Linked DNA regions of Homo sapiens: all the other regions are linked to region 5. The links are contacts of gene promoters, found by promoter capture Hi-C in blood cells and fetal thymus (Javierre and others, 2016). All regions are on one chromosome and are shown on one strand. The core of a region is centred on a gene start or on the middle of the fragment in contact, and the rest is flanking DNA. Distances in the headings are between cores, read along the strand shown.

Region 1 (4,380 bases), core at 1,319-3,818, 1.3 Mb after region 5:
TTTATTTCAATTATTAGTTATACAAAAAAACGTAGGGTTTGCCACAAGGTAAGCAGAGGAGAATCAGCCATGATTTGGTGGTCCTCTGAGAAGACACCCCTTCCCCAGACTACTAGATTTCTCTTCAAATCCCACGCTTTTCCTCAACTAATTTGCAATAAGAGAAGTACACTTATGTTTTTTGTTACACAATCAGCAAATAGTTACTACGCCTGGCAACTCTGCTTTATTTCTGTGCCCCCTGAACACACTTCACTCACCTTGAAAAGCTTTCTGATAGGACAGAGCACATGATCTTGGTAGCACGTCACACAGCAACCTTCTACCCAGAGCACATGACAAAACAGATCAGCTTTCAAATATCAACACTGGGAACATGTTTCTCTCCCTGTGTTTCACTATCCGGAAAGGCGCACAAACTGTGCAGATCACATGGCAGTTCACATGAAACTTTAATGGTCAGCTGTTCACAGCAGTATCAATTCTGCCTCAGTGGCTACACCTCAGATTCAGTGGTTGTTTTGGGTCTCCAGAATCATACTTTCTCATATCAGTGCAGTAATTTTCTTGTAAAATCATTCTGTCATGAAATTTGGCTGTTTTGACATTATTGCTTTAAATCAGTATTAAAACTCAAATAGGTTATGAATAACTGTTACGGTCGCTTATGTAATGATCCACAAGACTGAGAAACGGCCCAGCCACTCCATCCCACAACTGGCAGGTCAATAGGGTAATTTAAGGCCAGGCAAAAAGTCAGTGATACTTGCTAGAAGTGAACAAATGTCAGACTCTCAAGTGAAACCCTCAATACGTAAGTCAATACTGATTCTTAATTCTCTCTCAAGTGCCCTTGAAAATGACGGAGCATTGCAACAAACAAACTGCAAACAACAAACTATGAGTAACTATATCTCGCCAGTGTGCAAATGATTCCGGTAGTGCCATCTCTTGTTCTGACCTGTTATGCAGGGTTACTGAGTGGCTACTCAAAAGAAGTGACTGACTACTACCCACATAGAGAAGAGTAAGGTTTAAATGGGAGGAGTATTTTACAGCACCTGGGGCAAGGAGGCAGGGTGGAAGGAACAGGTGTAGGAAAAAAGAAAAAGCTCTCAAGTGGCCCCTTGACTGATAGTAGGAAAAAGAACATGAGACCTCAGCTTTCACCCTTTGTTGTATTCAAGGAAGAGGGTGTTGAATCGGCTTTATTTCGGTTTTGTGGAAGTACTTTGGGTTTAATTTCTTTCTCAGTTTATATATTGTCTTTCTTCTGCAAAAATCAAGTGCTGGTTTTGACCATGCACTTAAATAGGTCAGCACATTTCTAAAGTACACTATGCGCTTCTGAAGTACTTTATTTGTAAGCCCTCATCTAGGGAAAAAATCAATCAGCAAGAAACTCTTGATGATGGACTACGTGCTCTCAATTACCCTGAACATCACAGAAGGCCTTCAAAGACATCACCTTGTATCTGAGAAGCAAAACTAACATCTGTGAAGCAACAATTCGCAATACAAGAAACACTATAATTAAAAGTCAATTATGTTTCACCATCTGCCTTTATCCCTGGAGGTTGGTCTTAAGGTAGAGAGGGGCAGGATATCCTTGGACACAACCTCACCCAATTAAAAATCAAGACAAATTAAGATGTTCTGTACTTCTGTCCTGTCCTTACTTGATTAAGCCCACCCATTCTGCCAAATGCAAACAAAGTAAGGTATGGACAGGAAGCAGGTGAAGGAGGTAGAGGGAAGATCCTTTCAGAAAAGCAGTGGTTGCCTACTTTCAGTCAATGAATATTTACTAAGCCGTGTCCAAAGTACACTTTGCTGTTTTCACTTCTTTGTCAAAATATTGCCCCCTCGCCCCCAGCAGGAACTGCTGGACCAGTCTGGGCAGTCACGCTAAGCCACATTACAACACGATCAGCATACTGCCTGACGCACAAGGCACGGGGCCTCTGGACGCGTGTTCTGAGCCCTTCGCAGGAGACTCGTCCTACAGAGCCGAAGAAAACAGAAAATCATGAACACAAAGAAGAGCACGAAGCCGACCTCCAACTGGCAAAATCAGAAATCTCTGCCGAGAATGGCTCGAGCGCTTTTCTCGGTCCTCTCTTCCTCCGCTGCCCACCCGCAGGCCGGTCGCCCGCCCTTCCCGCGCCCCGCGTCCGCCGCGCGTACCTCCCTCTCGGTCAGGTTCTTGTCCGGCCCCAGCAGGTACGGGGTCAGGAAGGGCTCGGACGGCCTGAGGCTGGCGAAGAAGCCGTAGGCGCAGAGCAGCGCGGTCGGCAAGAACCAGCATTCGCGACGGACCCGAGCGGTCCGCAGGAGCACAGTGGCCGCCGCCGCCGCCGCCCGCCGAGACACCGGGCCGGGCACATCCATCCGGGGCGCGAGGGGAGGGGACCCGGCCCGGCCCCTTCCTTCTCCTCCTCCGCCAACTGGAGTGAGGGTCAGGCACTTGTAACCGCGAGTGACGCCTTCTCCCTGTAAGGCCAGGACGTTCTGGACTCGCCGCCGCCTCCGGCTACAGAACCCCCAGCTTTACCCTACAGACGCCTCTAGGGTCGCTGCCTGATCGCCCAGTTTAAGGGAGACCCGTCCTAAGGCCCACCCTCTGCCACCGCCTCCACTCCGGGAACCAATCACAGCGGACGCCGGGAATACTTGCCTGCTCTTCCATTGGTCGTGGGTCACACGACGTGAACTGGGGCGGTGGCAGCACGCCAGGCCTCTGACGTCCCAGGGCTCAAGCGCGGAGGACATGTGGAACTCCACTCCAAAAGCGGCGGCTTGCGGCGGAGCTCTCTCTAGTGAGGCGGCCAGCTGGCGTTCGTGGCACACTTGCTGTCGGCTCCGCTCATCTGTTGGGAATGCGTCCTGTGGGCCTAGTCCTCCGCTGGAAGAAACGCGCTGTTCTCCCCAACCACCGTTTATCATTCTTATTCACCGTCTCCGGAATGTCCATTCAGTTTCCGCTCCTGAGAGACTTAGTGACTGAGGCCAGGCAAAGATTTCACCTTGGGGAGGGGGAACGTTAAACCTTTCCTCCAGCAGCTTTCGTGTTTTAAATTGTATTCATCCGCCATGGAAAGACATCAGAAGCCCAGGATCTAAGAGACAGACTGAAATGAAGAAAGTAGATAATATTGTGAGAATAATGAACAAGCTGGTCACTGAACAGCAGAACCGTAATGGAGTCCCAGTTAAAGGGTTTTAACTTTATTTCGTCACTTTTTGCAAGCATGATACAAAGAAAACAAACACCTAACTACGCTACGGTTTATAGTTAAAAGGAAGGTGGAAGATCCTGAGTCATTACAGCAATCACAAAACATGATGGATTTCTTCATTTAAAAACACAAAAGAGGTCTTGGCATAGTTTTCAAGGGCAAAGCATGACAAGACTCTCCAGTGCTTTCTTTCATCCCCCTCTGTGTGCCTTTTTCTGCCTGACTCACAGCCTGGCTCAATCCTAATCTTTCTACTGCAAAGATGCAGCATTTAAAGCAATTTTTCCTGTGCAGTATTTGTAGAATGACAGATCCTGCCAGAAGCTCTTGGAAACATTTTGGAACTATCTTGCTTTTCTGTATGTTATGATCCATCTAGCACCGTTTTCCTCCTGTGGTAGCAAATGACACTTTTTTCAAGCATCAGCAGCAGAAATGAGTCTACCAGATGGAATAAGATACTGGTAAAGGGAAAGATTTGTTTCTAAGACTGCACAAATGAATGCACCCAAATCTGTGAGTTGATTAATCTGTGAAGAAATACAACTGGCAGTATTTACATATCTCAATGAGTCTCAAAGTGTGGTCGAGGAAGCCCTGGGGGTCCTTGGGACCCTTTCAGAGGTTCCACGAGCTCAAATCTATTTTCATAACCATGCTAAGTCTTTATTTCCTTTTCCACTCCAGAGGCTATATAATGTCTGATGACATCATCGCTTTATAGGATGAGAGAATACGTGCTTGTATATTCTTGTGTTTGTAAGACTTTCCAGGTTTAATTTATTACCATATGGCAATTTTCAATAAGTATAACCCACAAAACCCAACAGATTTTTGGGGCACCTCTAACAAGGGTCCTAAGACCAAAATGTTTGAGGACTGCTAATCGATATTATTCAATTGTCTAGTCCCCTAAACTCCAACCCTTCTTATCAGGACTACAGAGAGAAAACAGGTGGTCTTCTTGACAATCGCTTTGTATTTACATTCAGTGCTTTAGTAGAAGAGAAGAAAGAAAGAGAAAGCAAGCCAGAGAGGCCTCGGAAAGAGAAGCCTACTTATTAAAAATAGCTTTCTGGCTGGTCACGGTGGCTCACTCCTGTAATCCCAGCACTTTGGGAGGCCGAGACGGGCGGATCAC
Region 2 (4,414 bases), core at 1,600-4,099, 1.2 Mb after region 5:
ATCTGTAGTAGAAGGATTCTCTGGATTTAAAAGCAATTGCTGGTAATAGTTGTAGTCGTACAGTTTTCGGTAGAAGCCAAGGAGTGTACCTGTCTCTCCTGTGGAAAGAGATCTTTTTGAAGACTTCCTACAGTATTAGAGCTTGTTTTCATGTCCATATACTCCAGAACTATCAAAATTGATGGTCTTCCTTAAAAGCCTTTTGCATTTTTATATAGTTGATTTATTACACGTAGAATCAGTAAGTGTCAAAGAGCAAATTATAGGGGAAATTAGAAGAATGAAAACACAAGAAACGTCTAACCAGTTTAATCAGGAAAAAAAGAGAAGATATACATTACCAGTATCAGGAATGAAGGGGGGGGTACAATATAGACTCTATACACATAAAAAAGATAATACAGAAATGTTATGAACAAATCCATGTCAATAAATTCAGTAATTTAGATGAAATGGACAAACTCCATGAAAGACAAACTACCAAAGGTTACTCAAGAACAAATAGATAACCTGAATAGCCCTAACCTATTAAAGCAAATATAATTTATAGTTAAAAATTAAATATTTTCCAGTAAAGGAAATTCCAGGTCTAGATGGATTCACTGATGAATGCTAGTAAACATCTAAGGAAGACATAAAACCAAACTTATAAAAATTATTCTAGAAAACAGAAGAGAAGGAAACAATTTCCAGCTCATTTCATGAGACCAGCATTGTCTTGATATCAGAACCATTAGCCAAAACCCACCAACTAATATCTCTAATGAACATAAATGCAAAAATCCTTAACAGAATTTCAGTGAATCAAGTCCAACAATACAGAAAAAGTTTTATACATTTTGACCAAGTAAAGTGAATCCCAGGAATTGTAGATTGGTTTAGCATTCAAGAATCAATTAATGTAACTCACCAAAAAAGAAAAACCGTATGAATATCCCCATAGTTGCACAAATTATGTAAGTAGTTCCTATACTAAAAGATGAGAACAAAGAAAAGTACTGTTTGTTAAATGATTTTCATACAACAACCTAGTAGATTAACATATGCTTTCTGTAGTCTAACTTACTTGACTAAGACATCCGAATTTATGGAACTCTGAGAGAGAAAGGGATCAGAGAAAGATGTTATATAATTTCAGAAATATTTGTATTACCTATTTACTATTATTAATTTTTACATTTTGCTCTCTTACTATGTCCGGTGTTCATGTGTGTTCTATGCAGATTATTGGAGGAGCTCTTAGTTTCCTTGCAATGGGGAAGAGAGCAAACTTACTCCCCTAGTGTACAACCCCACAGCACAGCAGAGCTAGCATTAACAAATCACAAGTTGGCAAAAGCAGTAAATTCTCATCTTCTGGGAAATGTTGGCATTAACAATCAAAAAAAGATTCCATCAACAGTTGAATTCTGCAGCACCCCAGCTGAGAAAATGGCTGAAACGGTAAAATATTTTCTTTTGTGATCTATGGAACTTCTAACACTGTCCTTTTACTGAAAGGTGACATATCATGGAAAGCATTTGGCATTAGGAATTAGGAAATGTGGGATCTAAACCACTCATGCTATTGAGTGTGTTATCTTGGAGAAAATTATTTCCTCTTCTGCGCTTTAATATTTTCTAACACTACTGTTCTATTTTTAAGGACAAAAAAAGTAATTGTTTTGAAAGAGGTCCTATGTTTTAGCTATTAAGTCACTGATAATCCTTTTCATGAGTTCATTTTGATATAAAAACCACTGTGTAGAATTTTTAATGTAGATTAAATTAGTAGATTCATAGATTACTTCTGATCTAAGAAATTACTTAATTTCCACATATAGATGGAAATGTATCAAATACTACAGTACAGATAGTATAGTCCTGGATGAATTCAGGGTCCATGCAGCTGGCTTGTCAAATACTCATCTCACATGTCTGTGACAACAACCAAGTTCACCTTCGTTACAACTCTCATGTCCCCATCTGGGTCCCTGCCTGTCGCCATAACTCTTGCACTATTAAAATCTTCAACTCAACATCTCTGTCTCTGTGATCTGTGATCTCAACTTTTTTTCTTTCCAACTCTGATTCTTCATTCTGACTCCCTGGATGTGAACACATCTTTGATCATATAATTGTTTTTATTCCCTTGGTCCCTATATTTTTTTATGTATCTCATCAGCTCACTCTTTTAGTTTCTCTTCCCACATAGCTTTCCTAGACTCTATTCATAAGTGCCTTACTGCCTTATCTTCCTCTCCGAGTATGCTGCAAACCCCAGTCCTGTGTCAGTTCAGCTGTTTGCCTTTTTATTTCAGTACCCATCAAATACTACCTCACATTCAGCAGATGACTTTCCTTCCTAATCCACAGAAGAAAAAGGGGACAGAGGCAGAAAACTGCCTGAAGGTTTCATTAGATATCTAGAAGCCTATCTGTATGGCAGCATACATTTCTCTCAGAGGAAAAGGTGTCCTTCCTCTTCTCCTAAGCATACCTCCCCTCTAGGCCCTGGCTTCACCCTCAACAGTTATTCCTTCTCTCTGTTGGCTCTTTCCTTTTGGCTTAAGAACATGTCCAAGCATCATTCATCTAAAAAAGAAAAATCTTCCCTCTATTGTAAGATGTCTGGATATGGCTTTATCACCTTCCTTTCACATCCAAGAATCTTGGACAAGTTGTCCAGACATGTTTGTACTTAAACACCATCCATTCCTCAATTCCTACCGTCACTTAAATCTGTAGACTTCCTGCCCCACTATTCTCAGTAAGTACTCTTAAAAAGGTCATGAACATTTACTATCATATTATACTGTATCGAGCATTCCTTCCTGGAAACTCCCTTGACCTTTGTAACATCACTCTTTCTTGGCCCTGATGCTACCTCTCTGAGCTCTTCTTCATAGACTTTTTTCCTCCTTTAGATGTTCATGTTTCATAGGAATCTGTGTTCCCCTTTTCAAAATCTCTTCGTTCCTAAACACCATACTCTTGAAACGATTCACTACTTTTGTGACCATTGTTTCTAAGTTTTTGAGGGGGAGGGGCATCCTCTTCCTGTGACCCCTCTTGAGCTTTCTTTACATAACATACTTTCTCTATTCTCTTGGTGTTATTCTGTTTACCATAGCTTTATGCTTGTGACTTTTCCATCTCAGACTTTTTTCTGAGTCTGAGAGATTTATATCCAGCCAGGTATTTCCATCTACTTGTTCCACAGATGGCTAAAAATATAATCTCTTTTCTCCTTGCTTTTGCATTTGTACAACCCCCCACCCCTAAAAATCTCCTCCTTTTCCTGTATTCCCTATCTTGATGAATTATACCTACTCTATAGTGCTGTTTTCAGATTTCGATAAAAAACACATATAAAGCCTGCAGCAGTTTCCAATATATTGTAATTTCTCAATAAATGGTAGCTATCGTTTTTACTATTTCCTTCATTCCCCTAGTCCTGTTGATTTTACAGATCTTACCAGTTTTTTTCTAATTTATCCCCTCCCAAGTTCAAACACCTGACTTCCAGCCTAGCCCACTGCAGTTGCCCCCTCACTGATATCCCTGCCCTCCTTCTTAGCTGCTCCTGCCCACCCACTACTGGCAGAGAGTTATTTCAGAAGGCCAAATCAGTCATCAAACAGTTCCCAGTCTCCCTCATTATTGAATCAGAATTCATTCATATTGTATAGAAGGCTTTTTATAATCTTTCTTCCATCTCCCCTTCTCAAGAATCATTTCCCAAGTGTCACTACCCACTGCACTTAACATTCCAGCAGGGTTTAACCACTTTTCATGATGCACATAGGCCATTGTATCTCATGCCTCTGTACATACTTTTTCTTGTCTGGACTACCCTCCCCACACCTCTTTTGTTGCCCAACCTCTGTACCACCTTTAAGAACCTGCCTTCTCTGAATCTTGCTGGCAATCTGAAGTGTTCCTTCTCCATCCTTCCATTGTACTTTGCACTTATATCTGTAACTGCTCTTTACTGTATTAAATTATAATAGTTTTATTTTCCATCCCTCTCCCAAATTGTAAACTCCTAAAGGGCTGGGGACTTTGTGTTTTTATGTTTCCTCAAGGTCTGGCATAATCCCTTGCACATACTAAGTGCTCAGCTATTTACTGAATGAGTCAGTACCTAAAATTAATCATTTTTATCCAAAATTTTGTTTCTCCTTTTCTATTCTCTTTGTTGGGAAATTGTGTCACTGCCTACTTAGTTGCTGCCAGTAGCATTTGGTATAGTTGACCACTCCCTCTTTCTCGAACTATTCTTTCCGAGGTTTATATAACTTTATAGCTTACAGGCTTTTCTCTTTTATCCAACCATTTTATTTCACTATACAATGTTAGGTATCCTCAGGGCTTGATTTAGATCCCCTTCTTCTCCCAGACCTTTATCCACCACATTCTCCTATTTAACAAA
Region 3 (4,441 bases), core at 1,742-4,241, 1.1 Mb after region 5:
TATATAATATATTGTATATTATATTATATATATTAAATATATATTATACACACACACACACACACACACACACATATACCTGCTATGTACCCATAAAAATTTTAATTTTGTTTAAAAAAGACTGATTTCATGCCACATAAGCCTTGTATGATCTGGTCTCAGGCTACCTCTTTATCTCATCTGCCTCACCTGCCTCTGCCACCCTCTCCCTCACCTTCTCTGCTCCAGTTACACTGGCCTTCTTGCTGGTTACTAAATAAACCAAGCAGGCTCCCACCTCAGGGTCTTTGGATGTACTATTTCCTCTACCTAGACAGCTCTAGGGCTAGGATTCCCAGGGCTCTCCACATCATCACTTCATTCAGGTCTCCACTCATATGTCAGCAATGTAAGGAGGCTTCTCTGACCAGCTAACTAAATACCAACTTCTTCACTCTCTGTCTTGTTTGATTTTTTTTCCATAACACTTATCAAAACCTCAAATTATACTACATATTTGTTTATTCTGCATCTCCCCAGAAATTTTAGCTCCATAAGGGTGGGACTTTGTCACTGATTGCTCAGAACAGTGCCTGGCACTCAAGAGAAACTTAAAAATAATTGTTGAATGAATGAAGCTAGAGCTCTCTCTCAGAATAAAAGAGTCCACTGTTTTTGACCCATAATTCTAGATTTTTCTCTAGAGGTGAACAGCCCTTGATCAAAACTGTTTGTCCACTCCTGGTCTCTACCAAGTAACTAGCAGGGAAATTCAGTGGAAAGTTACCTTCCTTTCTTCTCAACTGTCTTTTCAGAGGATTATCTTTCTTCCTTGGATGTTTGTGCCTTTCTGCTCCCTGATGATATTGATATCTTTTCTCTGTAAATACAATACCTACTTCCAAGGACACTATCAATTAGTTAAGAATCTTAAATGCCTTTAAAAATAGAAAACATTCTCTAAGTGTCAGGCACTATCGTTAAAATGGCAGATTTGCAAAGCTTTTGTCAGGTGCTAAAGTGAAAAAAGAAGGTGAAGCTGGTAGGGGGACAGAGAGCAACTGGAGTTGTTACTTTAGAAAGGTGGACAAGGAAGTCCTCTCTGATGAGGTGTCATTTGAACATACATCTGAAAAAACGTGTAGGAGCATTTCAGGCAAATGGAATAGTAAGTGCAGCTGAAGTGTATGTAAAACTGGAAAAAAAAAGATGTAAACTTTGAAAATGTATATCTCAGAAGGCTAAACCAAAAAGAATTGCTTAAAAATTATATGAATAAGAACTACCTCAAATAATTCTGAATAGTCACCAACTCTGTGTATCTTGTGTCCTCTCAAAACTCACCCAAAGGGACATCTGGGTCAATGAACAAAAATGTTTAAAAGAAAGTGGGGTAGGGGGCAGCATCTGTGAAGCACTTAATTGTACAGGACACTAGGCTGAACCCTGAAGAATGAACCACAATGACGGAGTTTCCTACTTCATTTCCAAATGCGTTCCAGTAACTTTAGGGAATCAATGTTGACATTAATATGCATAAGTTTAATTTTGGATTTATACATATTCACATGTTAAAGAAAACCTGAAGCTCAGTGAATGAAAAATTGCAGAGAAAAAGCAGTAAAGTCAACTAATCTTGTTTTTAATTAGCGTTCTTTCAGTCATTAGCCTCTCTTCTGTGTTCCCACATTCAGTAGGTCTCTATCTTAACACTTGGAAATAACAACAGCAGTAGTAACAGTAATAACAGCAAACATTTTTTGGATGCTTACAGTGTATAAAGCATTGGGCTAAACAGTTTATCATTTAATTATAATAATATCCCTATAAGGGAACTAGTATTATTATTATTATTATTATCCTCATTTTACAAATGAAGAAATTGAATTTCTCTAAGTTAGTATTACAATGTTACAGTGTATCATGTATTTCTCTTCTTCTCTTTTTTCTTCCTCCAAGACTGTGAGCTTTTTAAAAAAGAAATCTAGTCTTGTTCATCTTTGTATCTCATATATATAGCATGTTGCAAGAACCCAAAAGTGGGCAGAAAGATGAGTTCAAGAGCCTCTGCTCTATATCTGAATATAAATGCTTATTATGTCAAGTTTGATTCTAGAAGTGTTCTAATAATGCATGCCACAACCTAGGTGTTAAGGGTATTGGGAGACAAGATAAAATCATCAGGCCAATACTAATTTTTATGTGGAAATGCTAGAAAAAGTGATCATAATATTATAGAAGCCATTCATTCTTTGCATAAAAACTTGAACATTTTTAATTATGAAAAATATTCAGATATCTAAGATAGACAGATATTCACCTTTTAGAGATCTCAGTGCATGCAGTAAAATCCAATAAGGTACCTAAAAGGCAATATGGTTTAACATAAATGATAAAACTGTACTTGCCACTAGATGAAGGGATTTTCAGTTTTTCCAGAGCCGAATTTCTGAGTCTAAGTGGCAAGAAACAGACTGGGTCTGAACGGTCTCATTGTACTTTCACAGTCAAATTACTGAATAATAAAATCTCACATGACCAGCAATAAAAGTAAATGTTCCCAGCTAATCCATTTAAATTGAGTAGATATTCAGGGATCTCACACCTAATACCTGCTAAATACATATCACACATGTTTAGCTGCCCCTATCCACAAAAGTATATGACCATTATTGAAACTGGTCTCAAGACCAATCTCTGCCATTTCCCTCCCTTTTACCAGCTTTTTCTTATTTCCATTAGGAAAATGAATCTATAAGAGAAATTTAGGAAGAGGGAATTTAATATATAAAAGTAAATTTTTCAATAGCCACAAAATTGCATAACACCATTAACCTCAAATATTTATTTTTGAAGGTTGATATTTTAATCTCTTCCATTTTCCTCAACTATCTTCTCATTAGGCAGCAATCTGGTTAATATGAAAATAACACATTTCATATGTATATTACAGTTTATAAATTACTTTCATATTAACTTATTTGATCTTCACAAAAAATGCTTTAAGGTAATCTAAACAGAAAGTATTATTTTGATTTTATGGATGAGAAAATAACTATCCAAAAAGATTACATAACACACAGCTCATAAGTGCTTAAGCCAGGACTGGAATAAAGACTGAAATTTTAGATTTCTAGCTCTACATCAGTTTGTTTGTACTTCAACAAGCTACATCTTGAAAATAAGTACACAAGAGAGGACTGGAAAATCTGTCTACAAATAATAGTTAAAAAAAGGCCAACTTAATATTCTTCACTACAGTCAGACAATAAACCTTGAATTTTAACAATTTATAATAGATGTAAAACAATAATTACAAAGAAATATTGTAGGTAAGTATTAACAGTGCCTTTCATCTATAGAACATACAGTAATTTATATTTCTCTCAATATTCTGAGCAAAGCAGGTGACAGTTTTATTAAAAGTTCAAATCTATTGTTAGACATATGTATGTAATGTATAGAAATACCAGTTTAGAGTTTAGAAGAAACAGGCACCATGGTATACTGCTAGCAGAGTATTCACTGGCAAAACTATTTTGGGAGTAGTCTGGCAATGTATATTGAAAGCCTAAAAATGCACATGACCTCTCGCACCTAGTTATTTCCTTTTTAATTTATTGTAAGGAAATAATTATGGATGTCTATAAAAATGTGTTCGCAAAAATATGTTAGTATTGTGTTAACAGAACAAATTAATAAATGGATTGGTTAAATCAGAGTAAATGAAAGAATAAAACGTAGAGCTGTCCCTCAGTATTTGCAGGGGATTGGTTCCAGGACTCCTACAGATACCAGAATCCTTAGACGCTCAAGTCCCTTACATACAATGATATAGCATTTGCATATAACCTATGCATATCCTCCAGTATATTTTAATTCATCTCTAAATTACTTACAACACGTAATACAATGCAAATGCTATGTAAATACTTGTTATAGTGCTTTGTTTTTATTTGTATTTTTTATCATTGTATTGTTATTTTTTTTTTTCAAATATTTTCAATCCTCAATTGGTTGAATCTGGATGCAGAACCCATGGCTACCCAGGGCTGGCTGTAGTTCTTAAAACTGATCTGGAAAAATGCAAAAGATATATTAAGTGGGATAAAACAGATTTCTAAACAATGAATATAATAGAATCATATTTTAAAGGATATGTATCTCTGTGTGTGTGTGTATATATGTATGAGTATATATGTGACCAGGATATTACACAAAAATATTAATAGCGATTGTATACAGGCAGTGTTATTATAGATAAATGTAATTTTATTACTTTTACTTTTATATTTTCTCATTTCTAAAAATGACTAAGTAATTTTCCTATATTTCTACAACAGAATAAGTTAAATATCTTTATAAACATATATAAAACATATATAGCATATATATGTATCATGTAAATATTGAAACTATGGAAAACAAAGGATAAAAGTTGAATTTACATCTATCAGAGAGC
Region 4 (4,035 bases), core at 938-3,437, 1.1 Mb after region 5:
GATTCTTAGATTTTAAAGAAGGAGGTTAAAATATTAATTAGATTTAAGCTTTATCAAGTTAAGTACATATGTTGTAGTTTCTAGTGTAAATACTAACTGTATATAGAAAAAAAATAGATGAAAAAAATCCTCAAGCAATCCGAACAATCAAAAATAAGATAATAAAACAGGCAGGAGAAGAAAGCTCAGGATAAGATGTCAGAGTTAAAGCCAAGTATATTAGTAGTTACGTTACAAATAAGTGCTCTACAGTAGATGCAGATTATAAAACTGTATTTATAAAAAAATTTTTTTAAAAAGATAATCTGATTGGATTTTAAAGCCTAGATGATAGGTTGAAAGGTGCAGCAAACCACCATGGCACATGTATACCTATGTAATAAACCTGTACATTCTGCACACGTATCCCGGAACTTAAAGAAAAAAAAAGATATAAAAAACAAACAAACAAAAACAAAAACTAATGAAAGGCACACATAGAAGAGAATACTGAAAATCTAAAGTAAAAAGAATGGAAAAGGTATACCATGCGAATGTTAACTAAAAGAAAGCCAGTGCAGCTATAGTAATATCAGAGAAAGTACAGTTTAAAGTAAAAGGCATTGCTAGAGATGAAGATGGTCTCTTCATAGTAATAAAAGATTCAATTTACCAAGAAGATATAACAATTTAAATCACCTAGTAACATACCCTTAAAATTATAATATAAAGACTAACATAACTACAAGAAGAAATAGACAAATGATAATTACATTAGAAAATTTTAATAAAACCTTGGCAATTGATAGAATAAGCTGCCCAAAAATTAGTAAATATGTGAAAGATTTGAACATCACAATTCACAGACTTCACCTAATGAATAAATATATAAAACTATACAAAACAACTGCAGACTAAACATTCCTTTCTTTTCTTTCTTTCTTTTTTTTTTTTCTTTTTTTTTGAGATGGAGTCTCGCTGTGTCACCCAGGCTGGAGTGCAGTGGTGCCATCTCAGCTCACTACAACCTCCACCTCCCGGGTTCAAGCAATTCTCCCACTCAGCCTCCCAAGCAGCTGGGACTATAGGCACACGCCTCCACGGCCGGCTAATTTTTGTAATTTTTTAGTAGAGACAAGGTTTCACCACATTGGCCAGGCTGGTCTCCAACTCCTGACCTCAACTGATCCACCCGCCTCAGCCTCCCAAAGTGCTGGGATTACAAGCGTGAGCCACCACACCTGGCCTAAACATTCTTTTCTAACACACATAGATCATTAATAATTGACTATTCTAAGCCAGAGGCAAATCTTAACCAGTTTGAAAGGCAAAAATCATGAAGAATATGTCCTCTAGACACATGCAATTCAGCTAGATTCCAATACAAAAAGAGAAAAACAAATCTCCGTATGTTTGGAAATAAACATAATTCTAAATAAATAATAAACCAAAGAAGACAACACAAAGAAAGTAAAAAATGTTTCAAACTGAATAAAAATTACATATCAAAAATAATAGGATATAGTTATAAGCAGTTAGAAGGAAATTTATACCCTTAATTGCATATATTAAAAATATTAAAAATTGATAGAATATATAATTCTGTAACTACTAATAGCAGAAAAGGGGAATAAAGAAAATTGGTCAATAACCATCAACTTAGAATTGTGTGTCTAGCAATAGTATCATTAAAGAAAGAGGGTAAAATAAAAAACGTGCAGATTAAAAAGAAACGGGTAGTTTACAATGAAGAAATGAAGAATAACAAGAAGAGAAAATATTCTAAAAGGACAGGTTGATATGCAAGAAAAATTGGTGAACAAATGTTTAGGTAAATCTAAGCAAATGTTGTTTCTATCAAAATAAATAAATAAATAAATAAAAGAATGTCTAACATGCAGGCAAAAAAACTGAATGTCCAAAAACAACAATAATAACAAAACTATGTAAGATTTAAGAGAGAAGATTAGAGCTAAAGTGTCCTAATCTTGTTGTATGAGTTGGGAGAGAGCCATATTATTATAGAACTGTAAGTTAAATATATGAAAAAATTTCAAGCCTAACCAATAAAGAACAAGTATAAAAATCACATAACCTCTAAAGCAACAGAGAATATAGTAGGCAGAATAACACTACCCCTCAAAAATGTCCACATTATAATCTCCAGAACGTATAAATATATTACCTCACCTGCCAAAAAGGACTTTGCAGATGTGATTAAGATTACAGGCCTTGAGATAGTAGAGATTATTCTGGATTATTCCCCTGGGCCCAATCTCATCACATGAGTCCCTAAAGTCAGAGAATCTTTCCTAGCTTTAGAGAACCAGAGAGATGTCAGTGTGAGGAGGACTCAAGCCTGCTATTGGTGGCTTTGAAGATGGAGAAAGGTGGCCCCAAACCAAGGAATGTGGATGGCTTCAAGATGTTGGAATGTGCAAGGAAATTGATTCTTTCCTAGAGCCTCAAGAGAAATGCAGTCTTATCAACACCTGATCTTTACCTGATGAGATCTGATTGGACTTCTGACAGAACTGTAAGATCATAAATTTGTATTGTTTAAGTGACTAACTTGGTAGTAATTTGTTATAACTTCAATAGAAAACCATATAATAGAAAAAAAAAACTGAAGAGAGGAAGAAAAATTTCTTCAACTAATCCAAAGAAAAGGCAAGAAGAAAAAAATAGAAAAACAGGAAAACAGTAAAATAGAAACATATACAAAAATAACAATAATCACAGCATATTTCAATGTACATGTATTAACTTTACCAATGAAAATATAACCATTCCAGATTAAATTGAAAAAAAACCTATATGTTATTTACAAGAGACATATCTAAAGCATAACAGGGCAAGTATAAAAGAGATGGCAAAAAGATATTAATTAACCCAAATACGCTATCAATCAAACCCTTTCTAAGGAAAGATGGCTCAAGCTGGAGCTGAAAAGGAAATTCAACTCTAATCTGTTAACTGACCAAGGACCATATGACTGAGAATTGTAGAATGGAAAGGCAGAATTCTTATTTTACAGAAAAAAATATCAATTTCTCCCTGGGAATTTAATAATGAGAAGGCATTCTTCATTGTATTATTTGGGAGGCAGTTACACTGTTGTTGGGTCTATCGTATAATCAATAGCATGCCATCTTAGACAACGATACTATAGATAAGTAAAGATGAGAAAAAGATTGGGGGTGAGTTTTTAGCAAGGCCTCTGTTACTGAACTAAGGTATTCCTCTAAGGCATTAGGGTGCCCTTCTGCAGCCAAAACTCAACTGCTCACCACTGGTCCTAGGACAATATACAAAGCAACAGTAATTGGTATTGAGGGAAAGGTTTCCCAAAGGTGAGAGCAAGACTAAACTAATATTCATCTGGTCTGTTCCCCGAGAAGTAGCCATAGTCTACTAGAGCATGGCAGCCAATTGGCTTAAAGGTATAAAACCCAGAAAACAACTAGGAATGTGTACTCTTGCTCCTCATGAGTAAAGTAACTTCTATCCCTGTTCCCATAAGAAAGTGCTCTCTCTCTCTACTTCTTCCATTTGCTTCTCCATGTCCGGCCATATTTAAGGGTTTCTGGTTATTTGTGGCCCGACCTCTTTTTTCTCAGACCTGCAGACCCTCAAGTAGGGGATAGTGTACAAGTAAGGGATAGCGTATTGTTCTCCTGCTTTCACATGTTAAGCACATTGGAATCAGAGTCCGGCACCTGCAGTGGAAGCCTGTTTCTCTCTAGTGCTCTCTCTCCTGTGCTCCATGGGCTGGGAGGCAGGATGAGAACCCTGGGCAAGTATGCCCTTAGTTTGTTCTGTAGATCCAACTTTTCCTCAGGCAGGCCTCAAGTTCCAGATCAGTGTAAGGGATAGAGGAAATAGGAATAGAAAGAAAGCCTCAACCATTCTCAAACACGCTTTCACAAGACAGCCTAAGTAAAATTAATACTTAATATTTTGATCTACATCTATCTCCTGTGTTAGTTCTTCATCAGTTAGTAATTTGGAGGGAAGAATGGAGACTAACTGAGCTCAAGAGATGACAAGAAGCTG
Region 5 (4,559 bases), core at 1,266-3,765:
CATTCCTTGGCTTGTGGCTGCATCACTCCCATCTCTGCCTCTGTGGTCACAGTGCCTTCTCCTCTTCTGTTGGTGTCAAATCTCCCTCTGCTTCCCTCTTATAAGGATATACATGATTGCATTTATGGCTCACCTGGATAATTGTGCATAATCTATTTTAAGATCCTTAATTACCTGCACAAAATACCACCCCCACTCCACTTTTCACTGTCTAAGGTAACATGTACACTTTCCAGAGATTAGGACATGGGTATCTTTTGGGGAACATTTTTCAGTTTACCACACTGTGGGAGATGTTAAGCAGGGCAACAAATGAGTCAGACTTATGTTTACAAAGATCCTTCAAGGGATGGTGTGGCACAGTCAGAAAAAACCTTCTGAAGACATTGATTAAACCTTCCTCATTCTTCTGTGTTTAATGACTACTTAGTATTCTTGTGAATGAATGTACCATAATTTATTTAAGCACTTCCCTCATTTATGAACTTTTAAGTTGTTTCCAATTTTTTTCTATTACAAACAATGCTACAATGAATCACCTTGTAATGGGCCAATTGCACAATGTGCAAATATAAATGTAGGTAAATCAGGAGCCCATATTCTGGGTTCAGACTCAGACACATTGGAGAAAGATAAGAGTGGATGCCTGTTACATTTTACAATAGATAATATTAATGGATTGTGAAATATATACTGAGCACTGTTCTAAGCATTTTTGAAATGGCTTTATTGCAATAGAATTCATATGCCATACAGTTAATTCAAAGCATACAATTCAATGGTTTTTAGTATGTTCAGAGCTGTGCATGCAACCATTACCACAATCTAATTCCAGAACATTTAAATCACCCCATTAGTCTCTTACTACCATTTCCCCTCCTCCATCCCTAGGCAACCATTAGTCTACTTTCTGTTTCTATGGGTTTGCCTATTCTGGACATTTCCTATAAATGAAATCATACAATATATGGTCTATTGTGTCTAGCTTCTGTGAAAGGGAAATATCTTGGGCCCCCCCAAATTACTAAAGGGAAAATTCAAGCTGGGAACTGCTTAGAACAAATCTGCCTCTCATTCTATTCAAAGTTATCACTGTGTTCACTGAGATAAATGCACATCTGATTGCCTCCTTTGGAAAGGCTAATCAAAAACTCAAAGGAGTGCAACCATTTGTCTCTCACCTATCTGTGACTTGGAAGCCCCCTCCCCCCTTGAGTCTTCCTGCCTTTGCTTCGAGTTGTCCCGCCTTTCCAAACACAACCAATGTACTTCTTACACATATTGACGGATGCCTCATGTCTCCCTAAAATGTATAACACCAAGCTATGCCCCAACGACCTTGGGCACATGTCGTCAGGACTTCCTGAGTCTGTGTCACAGGTGCTGTTCCTCAACCTTGGCAAAATAAACTTCCTGGTTAACTGAGACCTGTCTCAAATTTTCGGGCTCCACACTTCTTTCACTTAATACAATGTTTTCGAGGTTCATCCACGTTGTAGCATGTGTCAGTACTCCATTCTTTTTTATTGCATGGGTATGTCACATTTTATTTACCATTAATCAGTTGGTGGCCATTTGTATTGTTTCCACTCTGTTGCCCAAGCTAGAGTGCAGTGGCTTACTGTACTGACAATCATGGCTTACTGCAGCCTTGACCTCCTGAGTCCAAGCCATTCTTCCTCCTCAGCCTCGCAAGTAGCTTGGATTACAGATGCCCGCCAGCATGCCTGGCTAATTTTTAAGAATGTTTTGAAGAGATGAGGTCTCCCTATGTTGCCCAGGCTGGTCTGGAACTCCCGGGCTCAAGCCATCTTCCCAAAGTGCTGGGAATACAGACATGAGCCACCATGCCCAGTCTACTTTTAGTTTTTTTAAGGTCAGAAAAAAAAACAATTGTACAAACACAAAACAATTTAACAATCTATTATTCCTTTCAACATTCCTTCAGTCACTTTTTTTTTTTTTTTTTTTGAGACAGAGTCTCGCTCTGTTGCCCATGCTGGAGTGCAGTATCCTGGTCATAGCTCATTACAGCCTGGAACTCCTTGGCTCAAGTGAGCCTCCTGCCTCAGCCTCCGGAGTAGCTGGGCTTCCAGGCACGCCCCACCACACCAGACTAAGGCCTTGAGTGATTAAAAAGAAAATCTTTTCCTGTGTAGGCACGATCGCAATATGGATGAACCACAGCCTTTGTTCCCGTCTGCACAAGGCTTCTCCCCCGTCTTTGTGTCTCCGGAGCCTTGCACGTGGTAGGTGCTCGGCATTCGTTGACTGGATCAAGTAGGGCGAGGGAGCGCGGCCCGTTCCGGTTTGAAACTGCTCTGGACGCCGAATTAGTGTTTGGCAGCGCCTGGTGGTCTTCAATCCCAGCCCCTCCGGCCCGCCGCGCCCCCCGGGACCAAAACAAGCGGAGGCGAGCGCGGGCGCGCGGGGCATGCCGGGAGCCCCCCGGTGGGCAGGTGCCTGGGCGGGGCGCGCCGCGGTTGGCGCCTGGGCGGCTGGGCGGCTGCCTAGCACCCGGAAGAGCCGTCAACTTAGCGAGCGCAACAGGCTGCCGCTGAGGAGCTGGAGCTGGTGGGGACTGGGCCGCAATGGACAAGCTGAAGAAGGTGCTGAGCGGGCAGGACACGGAGGACCGGAGCGGCCTGTCCGAGGTGAGTGAGCCCGGGGCCGTCGGCCCCCTCTCGCCGCGCTCCCGCCCTGCGTCCCCTGCCCGGGCCTGGGAAGCCTGCGGGGACTCCCTGGAGTTTCTGGACGGTAGCTCTGCCCCTTCTCCTCCTCTTCTTCTGCAGGGCTCCGCGAAGAGGTCTGGCACTACACGGGGCAGTGGCCGCGGCGTCCTTTTCTGCCCCGCGCCCCTTCAGCCCATCCTCCCTGACAAGGGGGCGGCGCAGGAGGAAATCCCCGGACTGAGCTGCGAGTGGGAGGGTGGGCGACTGGGCTGTCGGCCCCGGCCCCACCGGCCGGGGAATGCGCTTTAGGGCCGGGTAGGGCTGGGGGCCCCGAGGTCCAGGCGGAAGGAGCCTTTGCTGGGTGGGTCGGGGCCCCAGACCCGGACTGGGGTGTTGGGGTGGCGGTCCCTACCTCGCGACGGGGCTGGTGGCCGCGCCCCGAGCTCTGCCTTGGTTTTCTGTCCGGTTTAGGTTGTAGGGTGTGACACTCCCACCCGCCCCTGTACACATTGCCTTGTGATTGGGGGTGAGAAACTGCCCCCATCCCATGAGGACAGGGACCACATCTTGTGTCTCTGTCCACACTGCCCACAACTAGTCTCTAGACACCCAGCGCCTCAGGAGACTGCCTGCGTGTTGGTTTGTTTTATTAGAAAAGCTTTTTTTTCTTTTTTTCTGAGACAGAGTCTCACTCTGTCGCCCAGGCTGGAGTGCAGTGGCGCGATCTTGGCTCACTGCAGCCTCTGCCTCCTGGGTTCAAGCGATTCTCCCACCTCAGCCTCCCAAGTAGCTGGGATTACAGACACCCGCCATCAAACCCGGCTAATTTTTGTATTTTTACTAGAGACGAGGTTTCACCATCTTGGCCGGGCTGGTCTCGAACTCCTGACCTCAAGTGATCCGCCCACCTCTGCCTCCCAAAGTGCTGGGATTACAGGCATGAGCCACCGCGCCCGGCCTATTAGAAAAGTTTTGATCGTGCTGAAACCTGGCCACTAATGTCCTATGTTGTAGAACCACACAGAATGCTGCATTTCTATTTAGGGTGCTTTTAGCTTTTGTTTTCCTTTTTGGATGACAAAATAACGTTTCTCTTCGCTTTTTGGTGTATTCTTTAGCCTCCGTTCCCCATCTGTGAAATGAGGATGTTAAGATGATATGGCCAACTGGAAACTAATCAGTGTTTCTTCTGGTTTCTCAGCAAGTTCTTCTTTCTCAGCAAGCTGCTTTCACCCACGTTTGTGGTTGCTGATTTTATTCGGTTTTGTTTTGTGTGATACTGGGACTTAGCATGACATCTCCGAATGTAAGATTGCTCTCTGAATCTTCACCTTGAGGGAGTAATTCTATGGGATCGAATGTTGGAGTCACTGAAATTTAACTTTTTGATATTTCAAAACAAGTTGGTGGGTTCTTTTTAATTTGTTGCCTTTATTAATTGGTCAAGGCTCAGAGTAATTTCACGGGTTTTTTTTTCTTGATTTCTAGCCTCTATTATGAATCTCAAGTGGAACCTCAGACCGGGCCTAAGAAAGGTCTGACTCATAGGTAGCTGACCCTCGTTATTTAAAGCTTTATTTCCATAGACTGTCAACAAGCCTTTATGAACAATTGGTGCTTAAGAGGCAGACACTTTCTCTCCCTGCAGACTCTTGAGGGGTGGAGTGTTGACAGTGGGATGATGCAGATATTATTGTCTCGAAAATCATCACGAAGCAGTGGGCTGACCCTCAACAGTGGACGACTAGTAAAGTTTGCAAACATAAATGCTGAGCTTGTTTTTAACCTAAAATGGTGAACGTCTGTGTTGGATACTGTGAGAAGGGCTTTAATGTGTTATGCTGAGGCATCTGTTGGATCTAATTTAAAAAGAATAGGTGCTTCGTT
Region 6 (4,206 bases), core at 1,707-4,206, 1.2 Mb after region 5:
AAACCAAATGAGTATGTCGACTTTGCAATCTTGACACACTATTATTAACACTGTTCAGCTGTGTCATTCTAAAAAAGTTAATACCCCAGTTAAAAGCACCTATCTAGATTCTTTTCAAGATAAGGCAACAAAGTCAGCTTTAAAATAGTTTTCATGTCTGACATATACTAGCAGCCCCTTGGTAGACTGATTTCAGAATTAAATGCATATAGAACATTTTTTCAAGTAACTTGGTAATGAAATCACTAGCAATTTTAAGCAAATATTCAAGATGATCTACCTTTAGAAACAAAGGCAGATTTAAGGTAAAAAAATGCAGGAATCACATCTATCCTAGTTCCTGTCCCATTGAAATAATTGAAAAGAGGCTCAGTTTATGAAAAAGGCCTTGGACTAATGCAATTCCTATTGACATCTTTACTTGGATAAGAAAAACAAATTAATATAAAAACTATAAATAGGGATGAAATTATTAAAAAAAGATTTTTCATTTTATTTTGGAAATAAAAGGGAATACAAATACAAATGGCCTAGTTACATCTTTAGCCTATATATGAACTTTTAATCTTGGAATTAATAGTCCTTCATATTGAAGATTTAAAGACAAGCAAGCGTACCTTAAGCTTTCTTAAGTCTCTTCATTTAGCAGGCTTCAAAACTTGCCTTATTTTCTAACTAAATGAGCTTCTCTGGGAAGCATATGAATAATGCAAAAACGTACTTCTAAACAAATTTTACAGAAATAAATAATCGTCACAATGGGAACCAAGAACATTCATATGATGAATTTTTTTAAAATAACTTAAAATTAGAAATGATACGTACACCTTAAAATACAGAACACTAAACCAGAACAAATATTGCCAGTGATAGAATAACTATGTAGAAAGACCAATGTACATGAGTAACACAGAAATAAGAATTAAATTGAATAGAGGCAGATGCTGTTAGAACATATTTCCATCCATCATGACTTGCAACATTTTGTGGCCTCTGTGGAGCCCTGGTCCCACCAGGCCAAGCATCTGGCTAAGTAGATACAGACATATGTGACCTATAAAACACCAAACTCACTTGCTAATGAAGTATACAACACCATGTGCTGCTTTGATTGCTCTTGACTGGTTTTTAAAATCAAGTTCACTTTTGAATCAGAAAAAAAGTCATCCTTAAATTAGCTCTCATAAATAATCCATGAAATAAACTTTACTTCTGGCTCCTCTGAATAGTATCATGTTATTCCCGGAACACAAGGTATTAGTCAAGTGGCTGCTGTGAAGTCAAGAAATGCACATTCATAAATATATGTCTACGCTTTAAAAAATCAAACACATCCAGGCAGTTGCTGTGCAGAGTTCTTGCTATAAGAAGAAGCCCTTCAGCAGTATATTATGAAGTGGTTACTTGAGAACTTGATTGTGGATCTTCCAGCTTTCTACATTTCTTCATAACACTGACTGCACCACTGGCCAGGAAAACCACAGCGATGAGTGCAAAATAACTGGCATAGATCAAAAACTAGAAGGGGGAAAAGCAGTTTATTGAATTATCAATGACAAGAGGATTACTCTATAATAAAGTATATTCAGAATTTGTCCATAAAGCCTCAAAAAATATTGCATACTTACACCACGTGCCAGACCCTGAAGACACAAAGCAGCATCACAGCACGGTGGTACTAAATAAAGCCTGACTGCCTGAGTGTGAATCCTGACTTCATCCCTTACAAGCTGCGTGAACTTGATTGAGATACTTCATCTCTGAGCCCTTCTTCACTTACAAAATGGAATTCATAGTAGTTCTCACTTTACAGCGATGTTGGTACCCATCAGTGAGATCATAAATGCTTATTAGCACAATGCTAATGCTGTTAGTATTACTTTTATTGTTGTTGCTGTTATTGTTATAATTCAGTCCTGGTCTCTGCCTTCAAGCTGATAGGTGGGTACAAATAGGCCAAATTCTGAAGATCAAGAACTTCTCTATTTTTCCCCAGAAGAGGGCAGCGGCAGGTCAACTATATTCCATTACAGGATTACTTAATGTAAGAATTCTTCCCTAAGACAATTTTTTTTTTTTAAGTTCTGGGGTACATGTGCAGAATGTGCAGATTTGTTATATAGGTATACGTGTGCCATGGTGGTTTGCTGCACCTATCAACCCATCATCTAGGTTTTAAGCCCTGCATACATTAGGTATTTGTCCTAATGCTCTCCCTTCCCTTGCCTCCCACCCCCCAACAGGCCCCAATGTGTGTTGTTCCCCTCCCTGTGTCCATGTGTTCTCATTGTCCAACACCGACTTATGAGTGAGAACATGCAGTGTTTGGTTTTCTGTTCCTGTGTTAGTTTGCGGCGGATGATGCCCTAAGCGAAATTTTAATGTGACTATATGGTTTATTAACATCATCATCATCATCATCTTCTTAAAATAACATACTAAATACTTACAAACTGGTTCAAAAGTACAATGAGAGTATGGCCTTAAATCACTGAGCCAGTTTCTTTCAATGTTGGCTACACTTCTGCAGGAAGCCATTAATCAATCATGGCAGTTAGGGTTTCAGCACCACCCATAAAATCCTATTATTCCACGTGTTTAAATCCACCATTTCTATAAGAATCTGCTGACAAATTTCCACTTCCAATGACAGCCATGTTTCCCTCAACTGTAATAGTCCTGGGAACTCTCCCTTATACAGGGAGGATGGCAAGCACTTAAGTTTCTCTCCTACTTTCCATCCTGAAATAAGTTTTGGGGTTAGATGTTGGTTTAACTCTAAGCTCTGGAACACTACTAGTGATGGTATGGACAAGTCACTTAACATCTCTCAGACTCATCTTCTTCATGTCTAATACAGCAACCCTACAAATCCTATATAAAGCACTTGACACGTAGAGGCACTCAATGCACATTGTCTATTATTACTATTTCTCTCTTAGATCGCTTCAGTAAAAACAAAGTTAATTACGGCTAATATGTTGGGAAGAAATCATTTGGGTTGGGATGGGGGTGGGAGTAAATACTTCTTGATTCATTCAGTTGCCCATTTTACCAAAGTACAAAACAAGATATACTTAAAACTCACAATGCATGAAGGCATATACAACTATACAATTCCTGAACGTAAAAAGTATTCACATTGTTGTTGGGTGTTGGTGCAAGTTTCTCAATAGTCATAAGTTACAAATCATAATGTTGTTCATCAGCAGCAAGGCATTACCGTGGTATTTGGGTGAGGGGTGTTTTAAATAAAGAAGGGAGGAGACTTAAAGAGTTGTGAGATGAAGCAGGGAATCTCAAACATGGGATACAGTATTCCAAGCATAGATTTAAGTATAGAGGGAAATAATGGATGAGGAAGCAGAAGGTCTTGGTCTGTAAGGAATCAATATTACCTCTCAGCTGAAACAGCCCCATTGGGCTGATGAGTTACACTCGGGAATGTTCTAAGACCTGACAATCCCAACACCCTCCCAGGAGAAAAGAACTAAGGATAGGGGAGAAGATGTTGAATGAAGGAAGGAGGGTATGCTTTTACTTTACATCTGTTCCCTATTGTTTGGATTTGTTTTCATTAAGCATACATATACTTCTGTCACCCTGATCAAGTCACACATACTACCTTCGATGCCAAAGGAGAGATCTTACCTGAGTGGTAATTTCTAATCCAAGGCCACTGGCATCTACCACAATTAGAGTGAGCAGCGTCTGCAGTGCCAGGGCAATGAAGGTATTTACACCAAATACTAGGGCATAGCGTTCCATGCTGAGGTTTGCAGCAATTTGAAAACTTAAAAAAAAATAAAAGAGTGAATAAATAAGAATTACTTCTGGAGTACTTATAATATTTATTCTAAATAAAAGTAAACATTTATCTTTAAACATGAAGAGTCCTTCTTTCTACTGTCAATTGCCTTTCCAACCAAATGAAAACATTCTGCAACTAAATGATATAAATCTCATGCAAACATCTGAAAACAGTAGGAACATACAAACATGGGAATAAACAAAACTTGCCTAAATGCTTCCTCAGGAGAAAAACTGATAATGCACATATAATACAATGCTTCCTCCCATTTGCCTCATTTAACTAGAAACTTGAATATTTTGGTTTGTAAAGAAACCAAAAAATTTATCCTGTTACAATTTTTCCTAAGGCTTCTATGAGCCAAAATACATACGTTGCTATCGTGATGAGTAACA

Evidence for each region. Contacts are between HindIII fragments. The CHiCAGO score rates a contact against its expected background, and 5 or more counts as called.
Region 1: the fragment with the promoter of SLC19A2 here is called in contact with the fragment with the promoter of SFT2D2 in region 5 in 1 of 17 cell types (naive CD8 T cells); the score reaches 5.2 in naive CD8 T cells.
Region 2: a fragment that was not itself captured here is called in contact with the fragment with the promoter of SFT2D2 in region 5 in 1 of 17 cell types (naive CD8 T cells); the score reaches 8.1 in naive CD8 T cells.
Region 3: a fragment that was not itself captured here is called in contact with the fragment with the promoter of SFT2D2 in region 5 in 2 of 17 cell types (naive CD8 T cells and neutrophils); the score reaches 6.4 in naive CD8 T cells.
Region 4: a fragment that was not itself captured here is called in contact with the fragment with the promoter of SFT2D2 in region 5 in 1 of 17 cell types (naive CD8 T cells); the score reaches 5.2 in naive CD8 T cells.
Region 6: a contact is called between a fragment that was not itself captured here and the fragment with the promoter of SFT2D2 in region 5, in 1 of 17 cell types (total CD8 T cells). The highest score is 5.8, in total CD8 T cells.

Annotation. Positions count from the first base shown.
Region 1 is chr1:169,483,376-169,487,755 of GRCh38, forward strand. It overlaps SLC19A2 (solute carrier family 19 member 2), which reads right to left and starts at 2,569. Exons shown (of 6, transcript NM_006996.3): 1 at 2,188-2,569. The coding sequence starts at 2,391. RefSeq lists enhancers at 1,974-2,033, 2,576-2,870, 2,674-2,923, 2,706-3,626, 2,934-3,003 and a silencer at 2,214-2,393. The HindIII fragment of the contact is 10,248 bases long and covers 268-4,380 here.
Region 2 is chr1:169,380,839-169,385,252 of GRCh38, forward strand. BLZF1 (basic leucine zipper nuclear factor 1) reads left to right here. Exons shown (of 7, transcript NM_001320973.2): 6 at 1,224-1,443. Among named protein-coding and RNA genes, the nearest start is that of BLZF1, 15 kb to the left of the region's middle. The HindIII fragment of the contact is 9,513 bases long and covers 1-4,414 here.
Region 3 is chr1:169,355,321-169,359,761 of GRCh38, forward strand. All of the region lies in intron 1 of NME7 (NME/NM23 family member 7), which reads right to left. Among named protein-coding and RNA genes, the nearest start is that of NME7, 10 kb to the right of the region's middle. The HindIII fragment of the contact is 4,025 bases long and covers 980-4,441 here.
Region 4 is chr1:169,314,340-169,318,374 of GRCh38, forward strand. The region is part of intron 3 of NME7 (NME/NM23 family member 7); the gene reads right to left. Among named protein-coding and RNA genes, the nearest start is that of NME7, 51 kb to the right of the region's middle. The HindIII fragment of the contact is 4,282 bases long and covers 47-4,035 here.
Region 5 is chr1:168,223,489-168,228,047 of GRCh38, forward strand. It overlaps SFT2D2 (SFT2 domain containing 2), which reads left to right and starts at 2,516. Exons shown (of 8, transcript NM_199344.3): 1 at 2,516-2,654. The coding sequence starts at 2,592. RefSeq lists a silencer at 2,183-2,812 and enhancers at 2,437-3,170, 3,473-3,552, 3,673-3,722. The HindIII fragment of the contact is 4,334 bases long and covers 1-3,328 here.
Region 6 is chr1:169,464,460-169,468,665 of GRCh38, forward strand. It overlaps SLC19A2 (solute carrier family 19 member 2), which reads right to left. Exons shown (of 6, transcript NM_006996.3): 4 at 4,185-4,206; 5 at 3,652-3,793; 6 at 1-1,518. The coding sequence ends at 1,390. Among named protein-coding and RNA genes, the nearest start is that of SLC19A2, 19 kb to the right of the region's middle. The HindIII fragment of the contact is 4,671 bases long and covers 622-4,206 here.